Regions from separate parts of the Homo sapiens genome. Here all the other regions are linked to region 1. The links are contacts of gene promoters, found by promoter capture Hi-C in blood cells and fetal thymus (Javierre and others, 2016). All regions are on one chromosome and are shown on one strand. The core of a region is centred on a gene start or on the middle of the fragment in contact, and the rest is flanking DNA. Distances in the headings are between cores, read along the strand shown.

Region 1 (5,666 bases), core at 1,282-3,781:
TGAGACCAGGAGTCTGAGACCAGCCTGGCCAACATGACAAAACCCTTCTCTACTAAAAACACAAAAATTAGCTGGGCATGGTGTCACTCACCTGTAATTTCAGCTACTCAGGAGGCTGAGGCATGAGAATCGCTTGAACACAGGAGGCGGAGGTTGCAGTGAGCTGAGATGGCACCACTGCACTCCATCCTGGGCAACAGAGAGAGAATCTGTCTCAAAAAAAAAAAAAAATACACACACACACACACACACACACACACACACACATACATATACTCAATATGCTATATCTATTTTTTAAACCTCATGGATTATTGTGGATTATTGAGATTTTTAGTCTATTATTTATGTTCATTTAGATTTAGTCATGTTTTTTACTTTGTTCTGTTTTTACTGCACCAGGCAAGTGGACCCCAGTTTGGTTCTATAACAATTTGTAGTTTTACTATAATGCGTGGATTTCTTCTACTAGGTGTAGATTTCTTTGACTAGATAAATAAAAGGGTTTCTTTTATTTATCCCACTAGAGAGTTATATGGCATCTTATATCTGTGACCTGGTTCCTTTCATAGGTACTAAAAATATTCAGCCCTTATTTCTTCAAATACTGTCTCTGCCCTAGCTTTATCTCTCGTTAAACTTAGTTCGATCCTCTTACTGTATTCTCTATCTCTCTTACTCTGTCTTCTGTAGGGTACATTTTTTGTTTCTCAATGCTTTATTCTAGATAATTTCTTGTGACCTACCTTCCTTTCAATTTATTCTACATTCAGCAGTGTCTAATCTGCCATTAACTGAGTTCTTAATTTAGTTACTGTATTTCTCAATCATAGAAGAGAAGTCTATTTACTTCTTTTTTTAAATCTGCTCTATCACTTTGTATAGTTTTTAGGTACCTGCCAAAATTGTCCAAGTTATCTTTTTTATTTCTTCAGGCAAAGAAAATATGATTTTATTTTACTTTTTTTCCTAAAAACTCTAATAGGTAAGCAAGAAAATATACATATGTTTTAAGCCAGGGTCTTGCTCTGTCACCCAGGCTGAAGGGCAGTGGTATGATCGTGACTTACTGCAGCATCAACCTGCTGGGCTCAAGCGATCCTCCCATCTCAGCCTCTTGAAGAGCTGGGACTTCAGGGCTGTGCCACCATACCTGGCTAATTTTTGATATTTTGTAGAGACAGGGTTTTGCCATGTTGCCCAGGCTGGTCTTGAACTCCCGAGCTCAAGCAATCCACCTGCCTTGGCCTCCCAAAGTGCTGGGATTATAGACATAAACCACTGTGTCCAGCCCAAGAAAATATTATTTTGCGGTTTGCATCAAATAATTCTAAAAGCAGTTGTTTCTGCAGGTCTATTTCCAATGTTTGTGTTTCTGCTGGTTCTCACTAAGAATCTAGTTTCTTTGTGTACCTGGTTATCTTTAATTCTGTATTTGACATTGTCTATGAAAACTTATGTGTAGGAAAAATGTCGGCCCTACAATTATAAGGCTTTCCTCCACCTATTTGCTTTTGCCAAGCATCTGGTGACACCATAGTCAGAGACAGTCTTAAACCAAGATAATGTCTGAGACAGGCAATTTGATGCAGTCTGTAAATTCCTTTTAAGCTGTTCCATTTTCAATTCATCCTCACCCTGAGGCTGTTGCCCTTTGGGGTCCCAGTTATTGTAAGGAGGGTCTTCTTCTTCTTCTTCTTTTTTTTTTTTTTTTGAGATGGAGTTTTGCTCTTGTCGCTCAGGCATGGAGAAACCCCATCTCTACTAAAAATACAAAATTACAGGCATGGTGATGCGTGCCTGTAATCCCAGCTACTCTGGAGGCTGAGGCAGGAGAATCACTTGAACCCGGGAGGCAGAGGTTGCGGTGAGCCAACATCGCGCCACTGCACTCCAGCTTGGGCAACAAGAGCGAAACTCCGTCTCAAAAACAAATTTATATATTATATATATATGTATATATATATACACATACACACACACACACACACACACGTATTCCAGAATTTTATTTTTAAATTTTATTGTTGTTTTCTACAGTGGGTTGATACAAATATCCTAGCCCATCATCTCCCCACCCTGCTTTCCTTTTCTTCATGGTCCTCACAATCGCCTGGGGTATTATCTATTTATTTTTCTATTTGTTATTGTCAATTAATTTCAATGTAATTAAGTTCCAAGAAAGCAGGAACTGCGTTTTGTTAACTGCTGTATACGCAGGGCCAATAAGAATGTGGGGGTAGATCTTACACACTCAGAATAGATAACTGAATGAATGAATGAATGAATGAGTGAATGAATGAATGACAGGGAAGGCGCTTCACCGGAAAGGCTGAAGGAGGTCTCCCAAGGACCGCTGTGAGGAAACGGGGGGCGGCGTGGGTGGGTGGCCGCTACCCACGGTTCCGGACGGCCCTCGGGGGCGCGCTCGGGCGGCTTCCAGCTTCCGGGTTCGAGGGCGCGCGCTGCTTCCCGGGAGAGGGCGGGCTCCGTGGCAGCCCCCTGTGGGCGGAGCCGGCGGCCGGGGCTCACAACCCGCCGGAAGACGCGCGGGTTGTGGCAGCTGCAGCGGGACCGCGTGGGGTGGGCCCCGGGACCGCCAGGGCTGCAGCGAGAGCGGCCGGCGGTGCAAGCGGCCGGGAGGGCGCGGCCGGAGGCAGAGGCCAGGCGAGACACCCGGCTGCGGCCTAAGAGGCCAGGCTGGGTGGGCTTGGCTGCAGCCGCCAGCCCCGTGTTAAAGCGGCAGCCAGGGAGGTGTATCCTCCCCGGGGTCTGCAAGACGCCGGCTCAGGGCATCCCTCCCATTCCGGCCCTCAAAGCCTCGCTCCTGGGGGCGCTGCTGGGAAAGCCCACCCGCCTGGGCGGGCCCTTGATGGGAATGTGGAGCAGACCCTCGTCCACTCCGGAGGCCGAGGGTCCTCCGGGCTTCCGAAGGAAGCCGACCTCAACGCTGGACGCTTCTTGGAGAATGATTGCGTTGAGTGGAGATGTGGTCTGTCTATAAAAGGCCGGGAGGGAACAATATCTGTTACCACTCAGTCCGTCTCTAAAGAGACACTCTTTACCGCTGAAAACCTCAAGAGTGAGCACTCCCACGCCCCCGTCTCTGGTCCTACCTGGGTCCAAGGCCGATGTGGTGAGTAGGAGTCTGTGTGCAGTCTTTGAGTCCGAGGGTGGCATGTCTGGGAGCACTGTGAGGGTGGGGCATCTTCGATATGAAGCTTCTCAGCCATTAACTGTTTCCCGAGTAAGATTCGAAAATTCGTGCACTTTGGTAACAAGACTTTTTATGTATTCAGGGGTGGGATATTTCTCACAAGCTCCAATTCCTAGAACACACGCAGCTCCTGTCTCTGCATATAGTCACACACACACACACACACACACACACGCCTATAAGTCACATACCCATCCTTCTCCAACAAACTTCAAAAAGTTGGGCCAGCTCCCTTCCCACGTAGCTCCGACTGTTCTTGGAGTGCCGTATACTTTGGACCTGGTCACGGTCAAAGCACCTGCTCAGATTCTAGGGTTTGGTTGAGATGATGGATTTGAGTTGTTTCCAAATTTGCCTATTACTATTCTGCAGTAGTCCTCATTATACTAAATTTACACCATTTGAAGACATACCCTCTTCCCCAATTTTAACATTTCTGAAACCAAGATGCATCTTCCCAGTGTGGTTCCAAGGAACTTGCCAGCTGCTGGGCATCTGCGTGGGTGGTGACGTGGCTGTCACTGCTTGTTCATGCCAAAATGCAGCTATGTCATTATTCTGTCAGTTGAGATATTTTGAACTTTAAATTCAGATTTAATGGTTTCTAAAAATAACTTTAAAAATTAATACTATGATTCAGCAATATGATAACAGGTTTATAACAATGTTCATTAAGGGTTTACTGTATGCCTAGCATTGTCTCAACCAACATTACAACTCTATAGAATACAATTATTATCTCCATTTTATAGATTAAGAAACTGAAGCTGAGAGTTGAAGTGTCATAGAGCTTTTAAGTGCAAGTGTCAGGTTTCTAAGCCAGGCTGTCTGATTTCAAAGCCTGCCCTCTTAAACCCCGTCTGTGTCCAGGCAGAAGATGCATGCAGCTTACAAGGAGGGAAGATGAGGCATGGTCTGTGCATGTTTGTACATCTTTGCATGTTTGTGTATGTATGTATAGAACTGGAGATAGAGCCACGTCCAGGAACATGTATTATATTTATTCCTGCATGGATATTTTTCTTTTGGGTATTTTGCAGTTTTAAATATATTTCTGCAGATTCTGGAGTTCTGGAGACAAGTGCTTCTGGATCCCTCTTCCCTTCCCTTTTGCTCCTCTAAAGAGTATGGAGACATGAACTCAAACCTAACTAACTGGCTGCCTCCCAAAGAAAGTGCTTGATTTAAAGGGGAGTTTGTTTTCCAGAATTGTTAAAGTCACATCAGTCTCTAGGAACCCCCAGGTCCTGGTGCTGCAGGGACACACCAGAGTCCTGAGGGCAGGTGATTGGAATCTGAGCAACACCCCACAACTGTGAAGCGTCTCATCAAGAGCTTCTGGCAATTTCCTCACCAGAAGTGGACAAGTCCAGTAAGGCAGGCATCATGCCACAGCAGCTCCTGATCACCCTGCCTACCGAGGCCAGCACCTGGGTGAAGCTGCAACATCCAAAGAAGGCCGTGGAGGGGGCGCCCCTGTGGGAGGATGTGACTAAAATGTTTGAAGGAGAAGGTGAGAATGGACTGATGGAGGGGGAAGAAGGGGATCTCATTTGTGTGTGAAAAGATAGGTACACACTTCATTGAAGTGGAGAGAAGGAGGGAGAGAAGGTCTCTGGGGGTTCATTCTTGTGGTTTTTGGGAAGGGGACAGCTGTGAGGGAAAATCTTGGGGTCCAGCATGGACTCCTTGTGACACGTGCTTGCAGCTGCTCTCATCTCCCATCTTCAAATACTACATGTAGCAGGAAGACAGAATACAAGGTGTTCCCCACCAGTGGTGCCTGAGTGTGGGAATGTGATTCACAGACAGGTCTAAGATTTCTGCCCTCCTTAAGTCCTCTAAGGGTTTTCCTGCACAGGTTCCAGTCATTTTAGCCCCAACCCAATATTTATCACAAGTATCAGTTTTTTCTTTTCATCTGCTGAGAGGCAGGAATGACATGCCAGATTACTCTCATGTTACCTTGAACTGTGGGAGAGATGCCCAACAATCACACCTTATTTAGTGGTCTGGTTAGGAGTAAATAGAAGGATGGAGGAAGTCATGTGTCTCATGTGGTGTTTTAATTCATACCTTTAATGCTTTACACTCAGCCAGTATTTATTGTTCTAGCTGTGTCAGGCAGGGACTTTGGCTAAACATCTTAAAAGATGGAAAAATGAATAATTATCTCTAATTCTGATTACCAATGGATTGAGATAGGCATACACCTCAATCAAAATAATAGAAAGCAGCCTAAGAAAAGTTATTTTGGAACACAAGCGACGGAAAACTTTGTTCTGGTTGTGATTTTTTTTTTTTTTTGGTGATGGAGTCTCGCTGTGTCGCCCAGGCTGGAGTGCAGTGGTGCAATCTCAGCTCACTGCAACTCCTGCCTCCCAGGTTCAAGCGATTCTCCTGCCTCAGCCTCCTGAGCAGCTGGGACTACAGGTGCCTGCCACCACGC
Region 2 (5,666 bases), core at 2,156-4,655, 320 kb before region 1:
ACTTGTTTAGTTGGTTACCCTCAGGGCTAAGTTCATTTTTTCGTTCTGGTCTTCAAGTAATTGTTATTATAATCATAAGTACAGTTTCCATTTTCCTAGTTATCAAATTACTCATGATTCGTGTTTCAGCTTGCTTGTGATCAATGACTAAAACTAGAATAATAATTGCTTAAAAAGTTGCCTTAATTGAAAATAAGTCACACAACCAGAATCAGACCACTAAGTTATACTTTCCTTCTGTTGTTCATAATTAGGCTTTGGCTTCTTTCGGCTTATGAATTAAACATTTCCCCTCTCTGTGGGGCATGACTCTCTAGGAATGAGACTTCCTAGTGATGTGAGATATAACTACTCTCTAACAAATGCTTCTTCCGTAATGCTTTCTTCAAAGATCTTGAAGAAAAGGGGAAAATGTGAAAGAAAAGGAATAGTCTGTCTATTTGGGGCTTCTAAAAGCTTAGGTTTTGTGGAAGATTGACTTTGGAGACCAAGTCACAGAGCATGACCTCTTAATCTTGACTTTTTATTATAGATTAATTTCCTTTCTTATTTTCTTGTACCTGACTCAGATGGTACCTGAGATACAAGACTCCTTGACTGAGTCTATATAAGTCTCCTTGACTGATTCTTGACTGAGATATAAGACTCCTTAGGCCGGGCGCGTGGCTCATGCCTGTAATGTTGGTCAGGCTGGTCTCGAGCTCCTGACCTCAAGTGATCCACCCACCTTGGCCTTGCAAAGGTCTGGGATTATAGGCATGAGCCACCAAGCTCCGCCTTTAGCTTTACTTTTTGATGTTAACATGTGAACTAGTTAGTATAAATTAGAAAAAAAACAACAGGATCATAAGCTTGAATATTCCATTCAAATTGTCTGGTAAAATGAGTAGGGTCCAGGTGAGAGTCAGGGAATTCTTTAACTATGCCTTTAGATTTCACCTTGGTTCATAAACCAAGGTAGGTTCTCCCCTACCAGACACCAGCTACTCACAAAATGGAGCCAGAACAATGGGAGTAGAAGTGGGAGGAGGAAGAAAAAGTAGTTGAGATAATGAAGGATAAAGAGAAGGAGGAGTTGAGGAGGAGAAATTTCAGCAGCTTTTTTATTTCAGAAATTGTTTCAGAGAATCTTTTGTTTTCTTTCTGTAAAGAAAGAACTTTATCAAAACCTCTTTTGGAAGCCTCTAAATGCCATTGAAAATAACTTTTCCAATTGCTCTGTTTTATTTTAGAGCCAGCTTATTCTAATTGAGCATATAAGTAAACTAGATTAGGCATTTCAAAGGCACACCATTTTGGCCATTATAATTTGGAGTCATTGTGAGTTATTCACGAGCAGTTTTCTAAATACTTACCTGAAAAGGCATCATGTCATATGTGTTAACTATAAATCCAGCTGGAGTTTCTAATAGTGGGTCTCTCTTAAGGAGGAAGGTTCAGTTTTAGATGCACAGTTGCCCATAGTGCATCAAAAGACTTAGGGAAAGTTGTTTTGAGATCAAGAAAGTTGTTTTGAGATCCCTAAGACCAAAAGACTTAGTGAAAGTTGTTTTGAGATCGAGTGTGCTGCTTGCGAAAATAGCTCCTCAAGGTGTCACTCTTGAGTCAGTTCTTCTCACATACAAATCTCAATGATACCAACAAACTTGGATGCTTAAGATACAGGGTAATCAATCCTTTATGTGTGCTCACCAGATTAAGCAAGGTTTCCTTTAAATTCTACTTAAGGGATTTCCTGTGAGACTGTTACTTATCAGGAGTGATTAACTCAGATACTCACACTAGACCTTAGTTGCTTAAGGTGACTTTTAGCTGGGAGAAACAGTGTCTATTATCTTCAGGACTTATTTCATCCTTATACAGAGTATTTCATAATTTTGGTCACTCAAGAAGCAAGCTTGAATTTGTCAATTGAACCAAGCCTCAGAACCTGGCTAGCTTTAAATATTATAACATTTTTGCTTAAACCACAAAGATTTACTTCCTCTTTTTAAAAATAAACTGTTTTTCACCTTATCAACATTTTGAATGAGAGAAAAAGTTGTAAAAACTCTAAGGAGTAATTCAAAACAAAAACCTTAACCTCACAGAAAAGTGAAAGTCACAATTTTTTTTTTTTTTGAGACATAGTCTTGCTCTGTCACCCAGGCTGGAATACAGTAGTGTGATCTCGGCTCACTGCAACCTCTGCCTCTTGGGTTTAAGTGATTCTCCTGCTTCAGCCTCCTGAGTAGCTGGCACTACAGGCATGTGCCACCACGCCCAGTTAATTTTTGTGTTTTTAGTAGAAACGGGGTTTCACCATGTTGGCCAGGCTGGTCTCGAACTCCCAACCTCAAGTGATCCACCCACCTCGGCCTCCCAAAGTGCTGAGATTACAGGTGTGAGCCACTGCACCCGACTGAAAGTCACAAATCTATGATCAGCAGAATCTCTACAGAATAACAAATGAAACTCCTATCTTGCAGCAGAGCTTTAATTCTTACTTCCTCCAGTTAGAAGTGTATAGCTGGAATAAAGTCTGAATCCTCATCAAAGCCAAGAGGACTACAACCTGAGAGGAGCCTTACCAGGGATCCCCATTAGTTCTTTTGAGGGTGGATGAACAAAAGTTGTTCATGCTGGTACCAAGATTTTGGCTGTTAGTGAAATGACAGGAATCACTGGAATGAAGGTTTGCCTTAGGTCCCTTCATGGTCGCCAAAATGTCAACCTTAATAATGAAATTCAGGCAACAGTATTAAATATTGAGTTTATTCGAGTGTAAATTTGAGGGTGGCCATCTGAGAGGATATAGACTCCAAAAAGATGGGGTCAGTGCTCTGAAATGGAGAGGTTTGAGGGTGCTTAAATAGGTAAAGTCTGGGGAAGCTTACCAGGATTTCAACATTTTGCATACAAGATTAATGCATAGATACAGCAATTTGATTGATTATATGCAGTGTTTCTTTTGGGGGAAGGGTATATTTCACATTTCACATTAAGGATGTAATAGTCAAGGGGTCTTTTTTTCTTGTTTGAGCCAAGTAAAAGAAAATAGGAAGGAAGTTAATCTATAACAAAAGGCCGCCACGCACAGTGGCTCACGCTTGTAATCCCAGGGCTTTGAAAGGCTGAGATGGACAGATCATTTGAGTCCAGGAGTTTGAGACCAGCAACCCCATCTCTATAAAAAATGCAAAAATTAGCTTGGTGTGGTGGCATGTGCCTGTAGTTCCAGCTACTTGAGGGGCTGAGGCAGAAGGATCTCTTGAACCAAGAAGTTGAGGTTGCAGTGAGCTGAGATCACTGCACTCCAGACTGGGTGACAAAGTAAGACCTTGTGTCAAAAAAAACAAAAACAAAAAAACAAAAATGCCAGTAAACAAGAGGTCATGCTTTGTGACTCAGTCTCCAAAGTCAACCTTGCTTAGGGCCTAACAACTTTTAGAAGCTCAAAATAGACTATTTTCTTTCACAATTTTAAATTAAAATTAAGTAAATAATGCTAGAATTGTAAATTTCATTTAAAAAACAATTCAGTCTTATTAAATATTTTTGTACAAATAGTTATTCCCAATGCTAATATTCATTGTCTATTTATGATTATGTAAATGTTCAGTCTTACTCTCTACTCATGTTACATCTAGACAGATACATGTATATATCAGTGTATACGCATATGTGTGTATGGAGACAATTAAAAAAAGGAACATCTGCCACTACCAAGAAACAATACATGGTTATGCAAGAAAATGCATTTATGCTATCTAAGAGGAAGAGTATGACAAGCTAATTTGTGTTTTCTCTTACCCAAGTGCTTCTGTAGCTCGAACACACTCTACGTAGCATTTCAAAAACAGTGTGCCTATTTCTCTTAAGTAGCACAACCCAAAACCTTCAAGACATTAGGATGCAGTTGTCTTTCATTTTTTTAATGGTGGTAAAATATGCATAAGGTAAAGCTTATCATTTTATCCATTTTTAAGTGTATAGTTCAGTGGCATTAAGTACATTCACATTGTTGTGCAAGCATCACCACCCTCCATCACCGTAACTTTTTCATCTTCCCAAACTGAAATTCTACATCCATTAAACAATAACTCTGCTGGCCTCTCTCTCCCCCAGCCCCTGGCAACCACCATTATTCTTTCTTACTCTATGAATTTGACTACTCTATATACCTCATATAAGTGGACTCATACAACATTTGTCTTTTTATGATGCTTGTTTCACTTAGCATAATCAACATTTATCCATGTTGTAGCACGTGTCAGAATTTCCTCCCTCCCCCTGTTTTTTCAGGAATGAATTTCTTTCCTTTTTAAGGTTGAATAACATTCCATTGCATGTCTATACCACATTCATTTATTTATTCATTCATTCATGGACATTTGGGTCATTTTTATCGTTTGGTTATTATGAATAACAGTGTTGTGAACACAAATGTACAAATATTTGTTCATGTCTCTGGTTTCAATTCTTTTGGTGCCTTTCAGCTTTGAGTATATGGAGCAAGAGACGTGATAAAGAGGTTCCCTAAAGCCTGAATAGTAGTGGTAAAGAAAGCAAATATTTATCCGGGTGTGGTGATGCACACCTGCAATCCCAGATACTCAGGAGACTGAGGCAGAAGAATCTCTTGAACCCAGGAGGCAGAAATTCTAGTGAGTTGAGATCACCCCACTGCACTCCAGTCTAGTGACAAAGGGGAAACTCCGTCAAAAAAAAAAAAAAAGAAGAAGAAGAAGAAAGAAGGAAAGAAAGAAAGAAACAAAGAAACAAAGGAAGAAAGAAAAGAATAGAAATGGAAAAAAGCTAGGCTTGTTGTTGCATTTCTGTAGTCTCAGCTACTCAAGAGACTGACGTGAGAGGCTTGCTTGAGTCCAGGAAGGCCAAGGCTGCAGTGAGCTGTGATCATACCACTGCATTTCAGCATGGGTGACAGAGTGAGACCCTGCCTCAAGAAAGCAAATATTTAAGATTGTACTTGTGCTGAGTGCTGGATTTCAAATGATAGGGGTGCCCATGTGTTCTTTAATATAGTTACTGTGTGTGTGTGTGTGTGTGTGCATGTGTGTGTGTGTAAGAAAGAGAGAGAGAGGTTTGTGTAGTCCTCTAAAGTGTGGGACCCAGGGCAGGGCCCTTGTTGCCTGGACTTAGGGTGGTATTGTCATAAGCACATACATGTATTAGAACTGGGTGAGTGTAGCAGTGAGTGTAGATAGAAAAGAAGTTGACAGACTATGCCTGGGACACTTAGAAATCACAAAGAAAAGAGAGAATAAAAGAAAAGAAATCAAGAAAAAAAACACCAGGAGAATGTGCAGACTTGGAATCCAAGTGAAATTAAATGTTGGGGAATTATCGACAATGCCAAATACTGCTAAGAGATTGACTAAACAAGGACTGATAATTCACCTTTGGACACACACAAAAGTAGAACTCACTGGTGGTGTTAAAATGAGCTGTTTCATTGACTGGTGGGGATAAAACCTGACTGAGAAGAGTTCAAGTAAGAATGAGAAGAGGGTAAGTAGAAACAGAAGGTCTGGCCAGCTCTTTAGAGAAGTTTTTCTATAAAAGGAAGCAAAGAAGTGGGATGGAAGCTAGATGAAGATGTGGTGGAGTCACTAGAGATTTATTTTTCTTTTTGCCTAACAGAGGTGGAACAGCTGATGGCCCCA
Region 3 (5,666 bases), core at 1,714-4,213, 290 kb before region 1:
GGATGAAAAAAGTATAGACAGATAGATAGGTAGATAGATAGATAGATAGATAGATAGATAGATAGATAGAGTAATAAGTTAGTCATATCACTGGCTTTAAGAAAACCACCTATAACCAATATAGAAAATGAGGCAGGGGGCATAGTGGCAGCATATGTTAAAGACTTAGGGGGTTTAATTTACTCTAGCCACTTAACTTTCTGGTTGTAAGCAGCCAGCTGTTCTCTCCCCATTTCATTTCATCTCACTCTCAGCTTAGTCTCTTGATGGCAAACCTCCATCAAGAGGTGGTGCTTCCTCATGCTGACATTTAAGTCTCTTCAGCATTTACTCTGATCTGTTCTAGCCATCTAGTTGTCTATTCATCTTTTCTGACTTTTTTCAAGTTCTTTCTTTGGAGTCCTCCTGTTCCCCTCACTTTTGCTCGTACTTCAGAGATCCATCTCAAGTGCTGCCCTCTCCTGGAAGTCTACCTCTTGTAGTGCAGTCACATTTTACTGAAATGTATAATTCTGGGAATTTCACATGCTGAGAAATTTAAATAAAAGTTTCTTGCTTTATGTGCAAAATTTGAAATAATCCAAACCCCTCTCTATTAGAAAACACATAACTTCCTATTGCCATAGAACATACAGCTTTAAAAAGAAACACTAGCTATCTTTTGTCAGTTTTTTGTGACCCACCAGCATTCTGAAGTACAGGATATCTGTCAGTGCCATTGCTTGAAAACATTCCCCAGAAGCATTCACTTTAGAATGGAAGTTAGATGTTGTAAACTCGGGAAGAAGGCCAAATGATGACCATGACACAACTTGCTACAAAATATTAAAGCTGATGCTGGGGGTGAGGGGGCAGAATTTAAAAGCACACTTAAAATAGTTGAATTGTGAAAAGGCATAAAGAAAGCGTGGTGATTAAGTGTGGGCTGAGGAGCCAGATGGCTCTAGTTCAAATCCTGAATCTAACACCTATTGGATGACTTTGCCCAAATAATTCAATCTCTCATGTTTCCTCATTTAAAAAAAAAAAAAATTCCCAAAAGACAACTTGACAGTGGCTCCTCATTTTTGAAATGGGCTGATAATAACTCCTAGCTCATGGAGTTGTGCATATTAAATAAGTTTAGTGGCCGTAAAGCTCTTAGGAAGTGCCTAACCCATACTATGTGCTCAGTAAATATAATTATTTCATTAGGAAAGTTAATCCTGAACTATGTGAAATTTAAATTGGAATGTATTCTTTAAACATTAAATGTGACCATCCTGAAAGAAATTCTCCTTTCTTGATAGTTTCAAGGAATAGTCAGAATGCTGCCAAGCTCCTTGAAACCATGTAGTGAGAAATGTAGAGAGAATTAAGGGTGAGGGGAGATTTTTTTTGCTTTGAAAATGTAGTCATGCTTATTAAAGAAAATTTGAGAAGTTTAGAAAAGTATAAAGATGACAAAAATTGCTCATATTCCTGCTACCTCAGTGCTAACCATGTAAGCATTTTAGTTAATTTCTTCTAGTCATTTTCCCCTTGGACATTAATTTTTTCAATGTACAGACATACGTGATTATAACACATATACAGAACTAGAGGTTATTTAGCCTAGAGAAGTGAACCAATGTAGCAGTCTAGATGAGGGATATTGGGGGCCTGGTTTAGGTGAATGGCTACAGAGATAAAGCATAGGGACAGGAGACAAAGATATTTCTGAGATAGAATCAACAAACTTTGGTGTGGTGGTTTCAAAGATAGTTTTTTAGCTCTGGCTCCTGAAAGGAGGCAGATGGAACATAGGAGGAAGAGCATATTTGCTGGGGAAGATGTTTGGTTTTGGACATGCTGAGTTTGAGATTTGAATAGGACATCCAGATGGAAATATGTAATAGGCAGTTGAGGTATATAGCAAGGACTTGAGAGAGTAATTTGAGGGTAATCTGCTTGGGATGTGAATGAGAGCACCGAATAGTCAAATATGGTGCGTAAGTGAGCTAATTTTTTACTTATATATCTGACCCCTTAGTATATATCATAGCCTTTCAAGGGCAGGAATAGAGTCTCCATCCTTACTTCCCAGCACAGTACAAAATAGTAGGTATTTGTGGAATGAGTTTACTGAAACAAAAGAGAGAGGTCATTAATTTGGTCACTGTAGAATGAACTTTAGGAGGTCATCTTTATCATTTATTGCCCCTTTTCTCTTCAGTTGTGATTTCAGTTCCTAAAGAAAAATAAGAGACCGTGGCTGGGTACAGTGGCTCACACCTGTAATCCCAGCACTTTGAGAGGCCAAGGTGGGAGGACCACTTGAGGCCCAGGAATTTGAGACCAGACTGGGCAGCAAAGAGACCCTGTCCCTACAAAAAAAAAGTTTTTTTTAATTGGCTGGGCATGGTGATGCACTTCTCCAGTCCTAGCTACTCAGGAGGCTGAGGTGGGTGGGAGAGAGGATCACTTGAGCCTAGGAGTTTGAGGTTATAGTGAGCTGTGATTGAACCACTGAACTCTAGCCGGGTTCAAGCAATTCTCCAGCCTCAGCCTCCCAAGTAGCTGGGACTAGAGGCATGCGCCACCACGCCCGGCTACTTTCTGTATTTTTAGTAGAGACAGGGTTTCACCATGTTGGCCAGGCTGGTCTGAACTCCTGACCTCAAGTGATACACCTGCCTCGGCCTCCCAAAGTGCTGGGATTACAGGCGTGAGCCACCTTGCCTAGTCCAGTTTTTTAAATGCAAGATTAGGTTGAAAGGATTACAGCCATCCTGTTATTTGGATGGCTGTAATCCTTTCAACCTAATCTTGCATTAAAAAAAAAAAAAAAAAAAAAAAAAAGCCGGGCGCAGTGGCTCCCAGCACTTTGGGAGGCCGAGGCGGGCAGGTCACGAGGTCAGGAGCTCGAGACCATCCTGGCTAACACGGTGAAACCCCGTCTCTACTAAAAATACAAAAAAAAAAAAAAAAAAAAAATTAGCCGGGCATGGTGGCGGGTGCCTGTAGTCCCAGCTACTTGGGAGGCTGAGGCAGGAGAATGGCGTGAACCTGGGAGGTGGAGCTTGCAGTGAGCCAAGATCGTGCCACTGCACTCTAGCCTGGGCTGACAGAGTGAGACTGTCTCAAAAAAAAAAAAAAAGCAAAAAAAAAAAAAAAAAAAAAACCACAAAGGCTGGATGCGAGGTGGCTTTTGCCTGTAATCCCAGCACTTGGGGAGGCCAAGGCAGGCGGATCACTTGAGGTCAAGAGTTCGAGACCAGCCTGGCCAAAATGGTGAAACCCCATCTCTACTAAAAACAGGAAAATTAACCGAGCCTGGTGGCGCACAGTTGTAATCCCAGCTACTCAGGAGCCTGAGGTGAAAGGATCCACTTGAATCTGGGAGGTGAAGGTTGCAGTGAGCCGAGATTTCACCACCGCACCCCAACCTGGGTGACAGAGTGAGACTTGATTAAAAAAACAAAAAGAAAGAAAGAAAATGCCTGGCTAGCCACAGTGGTTCATGCCTGTAGTCCCAGCTACTTGGGAGGCTGAAGTGGGAGGATCACCAGCAGTGATAGAATGAGACTCTATCTCAATTTAAAAAAAAAGTGATAATGAAGAAGATTGATTATTCCAGCCATTCTTCACATACCCAGAGTATGCTTATAGTGGGTATAAGAGATCTCACTACTTAATTTGAACCAACACATGAGGGGGTAAAGATTTAGGAATATAAAAAGTATAAATTAGTATAGAGCAAACTGGAAGTTCCTCAAGAGTATTGAATCTTTGAAATTGTGTAGCTTACAGAAGTCCTGGTGGAATGTCTGTCAGAAGCTATTAGATTGGTGGCAAGAGCGTTCTAAGTGGACAGGTGGATTGTGGAAAGACTAACCCCATCTGTATGCACTCTGTCCTTCTCTTTGCATACTTTAGTTAGCAGTTGGTTAATTTGCATGTGTGGTTTCAGCCATCATGTTGTATTGACTCATTCTGAAAGCTCTGTGAGGATAGGCCACATGTCTGCCCGCCCCCACTGCATCTAGCACTTTATGTGTGATAATCTATTGAAAAATATTTGTCAAATGAATAAAATGGTGAATGTATTCAGCAGACATTTAGTGAGACTTGAGAATGTCCTGTGGGGGTGGAAGTGGGTAGAGGAGTGGTAGGCCTATAAGGATTGATGAGACATAATGTCTGACTTTAAGGAACATAAATCTGGCACTAAATATAAATTTTTGAAACTCCTTAATTCTTAGATTAGCCAATGCAGACAGTAAGTAACTTACTGACCTAAACCAGAATTTTTTTGTAACATAGATTTTAATAAATTTCTTTGTTTTTTGTTTTTTGGTTTTTTTTTTTGAGACAGTCTTGCTGTGTCGCCAGGCTGGAGTGCAGTGGCGCAATCTTGGCTCACTGCAACCTCCGCCTCCCAGGTTCAAGCGATTTTCCTGCCTCAGCCTCCTGAGCAGCTGGGACTACAAGCGCGCGCCACCACGCCCATCTCTAATATTTGTATTTTTAGAGACGGGGTTTCACCCATGTTGGCCAGGATGGTCTCGATCTCTTGACTTTGTGATCCGTCCGCCTCGGCCTCCCAAAGTGCTGGGATTACAGGCGTGAGCCACAGCACCTGGCTGATTTTAATAAATTAGGTGAAATCTTAGTTATGTAACAGACACCCATTCTGCATTCTTTCTCTACTAATTCAGCTGGGAAGCAGGATTGCTTAGGGGTCAGTTTTATAATGTTACTCAGTTTTTTTATTTTATTAAAATTAGGGATTTGATTAAGTGGTGACATGTTGCTTTTCTGAAATTACAGAAGGGCATTTATCTAAAGTGACTGTGACCAAGTAGCAAGATACTTAATTGAGTAGGTCGGTATACTAAAAATAGCTCAACTGACTGTAATGATTCAGGTATGCAAAGATCAGATAATGCAATATATTAGTTAAGGGAACTTTTACTGTATATGGTATAATGGTCTATGGTATATTTCCTTGTAAGTTGTTTCTCTCTCTCTCTTTTTTTAAATGTTAAAGTAATCAAGATGATGCTAACAGTCAGTTACCAGAACTCATACAGGGACCATTTGTGTGGAAACTAAAGCTGCAGAAAATCCAGCAGAATCCTGCGCTACTATTGTAGTTATTTGTAGTTGTTTAGGCAGAAAAATCAAAGACAGGAAGTTAGGAATGTTTGAAGACATTATTCTAGGGTAATGAATTCAGATAAGATGTATTTCACTCATGTTAAAGCTATCCTCTGAAAATAAGACTTGCCTATAGAAGTATCCCCAACCAAAAGCCTATTAGGAACTCCCTAGCCCAGTCAGACAGAATGTGTATTCCAGGGAGAAGGCTGTATCCTGCTTATGTTAGACTGTACTACATACTTCACGTCTTAACTAGATATACCAATTAAGAATAGGCAAAACCTAATCAGTTGTCAGAAGGAAGATATATATGAACAAGAGAGAAAACAACTCCATGGAACTCAGAAGGAGAGTCCCCAAACATGAATTTGGCAGTGATTTTTCAACACTGTCCAGGGAGAACATAAGCCAGCTTTCCACCATCATTTGGACAAATTTTTAGTGATAGGACACATATAATTTATCAGGCTTTATTGTGGTTTCATTTTCTTTTGGTTTAGATTCAATACTCACCAGATAACTTCTCAGATGCCACAGTATGA
Region 4 (5,666 bases), core at 1,631-4,130, 270 kb before region 1:
GATGGATATTGGGTTAGCAACATTCCACTTGGAAGCACTGTGGCCTGGTCTTTGAGATTTAGTAGTAACTTGAATCTGAGAGGATTGTCTAGGCAGGGAAAGTATAGATAGAGACAGAATGCTAGTCATCTTTGTTTTGGGGAATGACCTTACACAGGAGCACAGATACGGGATGCAGAGATGAAACAGCCAGTTGGTGGCTATGAAGTGGACAACATGTAGTTTCCTCAAATGGGGATTGAAGCTATGACCTAGGGCCTCATTAATAAATGTTCTTATTTGTTAGACTTTCTGGTGATAAAGAAATCAAAGGATAAAATGCTTTGCACTGCCTGTCTTTTCAGACTTTCTACTTGAATCTTAAATATAACTGCAGAAAACATTTATTGCTCACTTGTCTATTCCAAGCACTGTGCTGTGTGCTTTAAATGTGTCGGTATCTAATCCTTATAAAAATCTATTAATTTAGGCCAGGTGTGGTGGCTCATGACTGTAATCCCAGCACTTTGGGATGCTGAGGAGGGAAGATTGCTTGAGGCCAAGAGTTCAAGACCAGCCTGGGCAACATGGTGAAACCCCATCTCTACAAAAAAAAATGCAGAACTTAGCTGGGCGTGGTGGCATGTGCCGTAGTCCCAGCTACTCGGGAGGCTGAGGTGGGAGGATTGCTTGAGCTCTGGAGGTGCAGGTTGCAGTGAGCTGAGATCACACCACTGCACTGCAGCCTAGATGACAGAGTAAGACCCTGTCTCAAAAACAAAAAAACTTTGAATTTTATAGAAATTAACTGAGGCTCTGAGAGATGATATTACTGGCGCATAGTAGTAAGATGTCCAGTAAGTGGTGTGCCCAGGGTTTAAATCCAAGGTGATCTGCCTCTGCTTTGCTTTTATACATATTAATCTGACACTCACACATCTCATGTACATGATCCAACTCACTGTCACTGCCAACCTTCTGGTTCTTTCTGGATTCTGGTTCTTAAAGTAGACTTGTTGTGCAGGCAAGTTTTTATTTCTTTTGTTTACCCAGAGGGGAAACTTCAGAAAAGATGGGAGGGGACTTTGAAGTTCTGAGGCTTGTGGGTGGCTCATTACTGGACTGGATTTACTGAGGAGCTTAGGTAGAGTATGTTTTTCACAAGACATCTAGAGAAGTGAAAGCAACAATCAAAATATGTAGGCTTGAATCTTGACATTGTCATTTACTAGCCATACAGCCTTGGCCAGGTAGCTTTATTTTCCTTATCTATAAAGTAGGCACAACAGTAGTAGCCGTCTCACAAAATGGCTGGATAGTTTAAATGTGATAATATCTAAAGCACTTAACACAGTTCTTGGCATATTTTAGACACCTTACAAACATAGACCCTAGTATAAGAATTCTTTAAGCCTGGGGTGCAGAACTAGGGAGGATCCGTCGAAGTCAAGATTGATCAGAGGTGAAACCTGAATTTGCACAGAGAAACAATGTGGTATACACAGAGATAGCCTCCTATGACTTCATCTACATTTTTAAAAGCAGTCATATGGGCTGGACAGAGTGGCTCATGCCTGTAATCCCAACACTTTGGGAGGCCGAGGCGGGCAGATCATGAGATCAGGAGTTCAAGACCAGCCTGGCTAACATGGTGAAACCTTGTCTCTACTAAAGATACAAAAAATTAGTCAGGTGTGGTGGTGTGCGCCTGTAATCCCATCTACTCAGGAGGCTGAGGCAAGAGAATCACTTGAACCCAGGAGGCAGAGGTTGCAGTAAGCCAGGATCGTGCCATTTGCACTCGAGCTGGGGCGACAGGGCGAGACTCCGTCTTAAAAAAAAAAAAAAAAGGCGATCATAAGAGACCAACTATAAACCTGTATGCTAATTTATTTATTTGCAGTATCAGGTAGTGTAAGGAGATAGATTGCTTACCTCTAATAGCAGCTGCAGTATTTTATGTTTGGGAAAGTTAATCAGACTGAGATGTAGTAATGGTTATTCTCAGCACCTGACACATGCCAAAACAATTCAAAAGCAGCAGCAAAACACTACATTTTGGGTTTGATTCCTCATCCTGTAATAATAACAACTTTACTCTCTCAGCCTTTGCTTAATTAAAACCCGTTTTGTTTCTAATGTTGTATTAGGCATTGGCAAATACAGCAAACTGTATGGCCCAGTTTGTTTGCCAAAAATAGTTACAGAAAGAGAAGTACTAAGCTCAATGATTACTGCCCTAAATTCAGTAGAAGTGTAAAGATAGAGAATTCTGTGTTTATAGAAAAATTGATCCTTGAATTGGAGCTTTAAGTAATGGTGGGGTTTGGATGGGTGGAAAGAATGGTTTGGAGATGACTGAATGGTAGTAAAGCACAGGTACTAATGAGTACTTTGCAGGGATCCACTGGAGAATAAATACCCTGCTTAGGGCAGAGTGGTTATTGAAGTCTTGTGAGAAATAAGACCTGTTGGGGTTGGAAAAGAAGGGCTTGGAAACTCCATTGCATTAATGGTTAGATTTGATGCAGTAGAAATTAAGAAGGCTTTGCAGTTAGGAAGTGACATGTCTGAAGTGGTGTTTTAGGAAGACTAGACAGAAAGAATATGTATTATGTTTAGGACAAGAGATTGTAGCCAGCAAGAGGACAAAGGACAGGACTTGCTGACCGGGCAAAAACAGAGGAGGATGTACAGAGATACCTTCAAGAGGCTCATAAGGCTTCTAGCTTGGGAGACTGGAAGAATAGTGGTGCTCTGCTGCTAATTAGAAGAAAGAATGGGTGGAGGGACAAGGGAGAGTCTGGGAAGATGATAAGCTTTGTTTTATACATGATCTTTCCTGGTTTATTAATAACAATGTTTGGAAACAGGATTTTTCCTGATTGTGTTGAGTTTGCAGGGAACTGTGTTATAGGAAATACGATTTGATACTATTCACAACAGGGGGTTGGCACCCACCCAGCTACCTGTTTTTATAAATAAAGCTTTACTGGCACAAAGTCTTACATTCATTTCTTGTCTGTGGCTGCTTTTGTGCTACAGTGGCAGAGGTGAGTAGTTGTAACAGAAACTCTCTGGCCAGAAAAGCTAAAAATATTTTCTGTCTGTCCTTGTACGAAAAATATTTGCTAACCTCTGCTCTACAAGAATTAAATTTTCCAGTCTATTTCAGTGGTTTAATATCGGTTGGTCTAACCCTCCGTGTTCTACACGTGATGAAACTGAAGCCAAGCTGATAATGTTTCCAAGGCCCTTCCTGCATTAAGCTAATTAGAAAGGCCAAGCCCAGCTGGAATGCAGGTCACCTGGCTCCTTGGTCAGCCTTCTTTCCACTCTACCACCTATTTCCATGTGTTAGACATTGATAAGCCATGGTCTGATTGGGAACATCTTGGTGATATATCATTCTGTTCATATTTATACATATAGGTGTGATTTAAAACATTTTTATCATGATGTGGATTAATTTGTTAAATATACCAATGCAAAACATTTAGTACACATAAAGTTATCTTAAAATTATTTTAAAGGAACCCTAGTATCATCGTATCATCATAACTAGTCAGTCTTTTTTTTTCCTTTCTTTTTCTTTGAGATGGTGTTTCACTCTTGTTGCCCAAGCTGGAGTGCAATGGCGTGATATCGGCTCACTGCAACCTCTGCCTCTCGGGTTCAAGTGATTCTCCTGCTTCAGCCTCCCGAGTAGCTGGGATTACGGGCACGTGCCACCACGCCTGGCTAATTTTTGTATTTTTAGTAGAAACGGGGTTTCACCGTTTCTACTGGTGACCAGCTGGTCTCAAACTCCTGACCTCCTGTTATCCGCCCGCCTCGGCCTCCCAAAGTGCTGGGATTACAAGGCATGAGCCATCACGCCCAGCCACTAGTCAGTCTCTTATCCTAGTGATACTTTTCTTTTGCAAGTGTCAACAGAATTAAAAATAATCTGTAGTTTGCTTTGGAAAATTACTAGTGAGTCACCAGATGTTGATTAATTAGAGTTTAAATTCAGCATACGTTCTAAAGTAGCAGAGTTACACACATATTTGCCATCTACTTCACCTGAGTTCAGGAGAAGAGTTAACTTGAGCAACAGCTGGGAATAAAAGTACATTGTATGTTGGTACCTGGGGGTATCCCAATAATAGGCATATGTAATGGGAAACCGCTGCTGGGGAAGATTTAGCCAGACACATACAATTAAGATTAATTGACTGGGTCATCTGAAAGTCAAAATTCAGAACCTAGTGGGTAAAGAGTGAGTCCTTTCAGATATCTGGTAGGTCTGGAAGGCAGAAGAATTTCATGGAATCCTGGAGTTTTAGGTTGTGATACTTTATTTATGTAGAATTGAATGAGATGACATTGCTATTAACTTTACATATTAAAGGATTTTAATAAAAGTTATAGACTTGGCAGTGGCTCAGTGTCCCAAGTGGATGTTTCCTATATTTTTTCATTACTGAAAGGGGAAGTCTTTGCAAAGATCAGGTTTTCAACATAGAAAAGATAACATTTTAAACATCAAGCACTTCTATTTTAAAGAGCTCAAGAAATCTGTCAGCAGAGTTCTTGGCGCAGTTAAGGCAGGGGTCCGTTTCATTCTTAATCCCTGAATGAACTACATCTTCGGTATCTGACGTGGTTGATAGACACAATAGCAGATGGTTGTTTCTTTTCCTGATGGGGAAAGGAAAGGACAAACAGGATCCAATTTACTTACCAGCCTAACACTGTTGGGAATTGACACAGTCACTAGGTATAAATGATAGAGCAGATACCTTTAAACAGGACCCAGTGGGAATTCAGTTTGGGAGTAGAAGAAAAAGTAAACAGGAGTATAGAAATTCCAGATGTAGTTTAAGTAAGAATCAAGATTAAGATGAACTCTGAACAAGGAATAATTACAAAAGGTTTAATTAAGTTTAAAATATGCCACCTCCACCACCTTCTTTTATGCTAATTGGCTGCCTGTTAGACCATTGGTGTTTAATTGCCTGATTATTTTGAAAGTCTTAATACTTCTACTTTATCCTTGTGATCATACAAGGAATGAGATAATACACTCAGAATACACTAATGACAGAAAGTCTGTGTAAAGAAATTGAGGATTTGCTTGTTTAGGTATTTTATCTCCTAAAGCACAGTTCTTTCAAATAGCTTTGAAGAGACGTCTTCCCAGAACTTTGTATGCATCTGGATCTCACTTCTGATCTTACTTTCATGGGTTATGTGTGGGTATTTTGGTTGGTGTATGATTGCACTGGAGGGGGTCATTATGAAGAGTCGATCAGACATATTGTCAAGAATTCAGCAGGACGTTTCAGCCTTCTTTCAGATACACACTGTGATAGGGTTTAAATGGAAGCATTGGTGACCATTTATTTCTTTAAGAAATATACAAGGTCCGTGCAGCATCATAGTACTGGTCTGTAGCATTACTGCAGTTTAAAAGGAGTCTCATGTTTTTAAAACTGGTCAGTATTCTTTTTTCCCAGGTAATGTCTTTGAAGCTAACAGATGATTTTCCCAAAGATATCTAGGGTTACTTGAAATGTAAGTTTGCTAACTGTAACTCCCACCTTTCTTCTACTCAAGGATGCAAGTGAATGAAGTATTATTATATGAATAAGCTTAAATCTACTTTGATTCCTTTTTGAAAAAATAAAACATTTATCAACTTT

What was found. Contacts are between HindIII fragments. The CHiCAGO score rates a contact against its expected background, and 5 or more counts as called.
Region 2: a contact is called between a fragment that was not itself captured here and the fragment with the promoter of ZFP69 in region 1, in 13 of 17 cell types (naive CD8 T cells, total CD8 T cells, M2 macrophages and 10 more). The highest score is 9.8, in naive CD8 T cells.
Region 3: a fragment that was not itself captured here is called in contact with the fragment with the promoter of ZFP69 in region 1 in 5 of 17 cell types (naive B cells, naive CD8 T cells, total CD4 T cells and 2 more); the score reaches 6.2 in naive B cells.
Region 4: a fragment that was not itself captured here is called in contact with the fragment with the promoter of ZFP69 in region 1 in 6 of 17 cell types (naive CD4 T cells, total CD4 T cells, total B cells and 3 more); the score reaches 8.1 in naive CD4 T cells.

The regions. Positions count from the first base shown.
Region 1 is chr1:40,474,759-40,480,424 of GRCh38, forward strand. It overlaps ZFP69 (ZFP69 zinc finger protein), which reads left to right and starts at 2,532. Exons shown (of 6, transcript NM_001320179.2): 1 at 2,532-3,136; 2 at 4,278-4,730. The coding sequence starts at 4,604. RefSeq lists a silencer at 2,271-2,740. The HindIII fragment of the contact is 9,111 bases long and covers 1-3,219 here.
Region 2 is chr1:40,151,616-40,157,281 of GRCh38, forward strand. All of the region lies in intron 2 of LOC105378671 (a long non-coding RNA gene), which reads right to left. Among named protein-coding and RNA genes, the nearest start is that of RLF, 6.9 kb to the right of the region's middle. RefSeq lists an enhancer at 1,840-1,899 and a silencer at 2,100-2,239. The HindIII fragment of the contact is 1,073 bases long and covers 2,870-3,942 here.
Region 3 is chr1:40,182,724-40,188,389 of GRCh38, forward strand. The region is part of intron 1 of RLF (RLF zinc finger); the gene reads left to right. Among named protein-coding and RNA genes, the nearest start is that of RLF, 24 kb to the left of the region's middle. RefSeq lists a silencer at 3,823-4,012. The HindIII fragment of the contact is 6,433 bases long and covers 1-5,666 here.
Region 4 is chr1:40,208,065-40,213,730 of GRCh38, forward strand. All of the region lies in intron 5 of RLF (RLF zinc finger), which reads left to right. Among named protein-coding and RNA genes, the nearest start is that of TMCO2, 37 kb to the right of the region's middle. The HindIII fragment of the contact is 168 bases long and covers 2,797-2,964 here.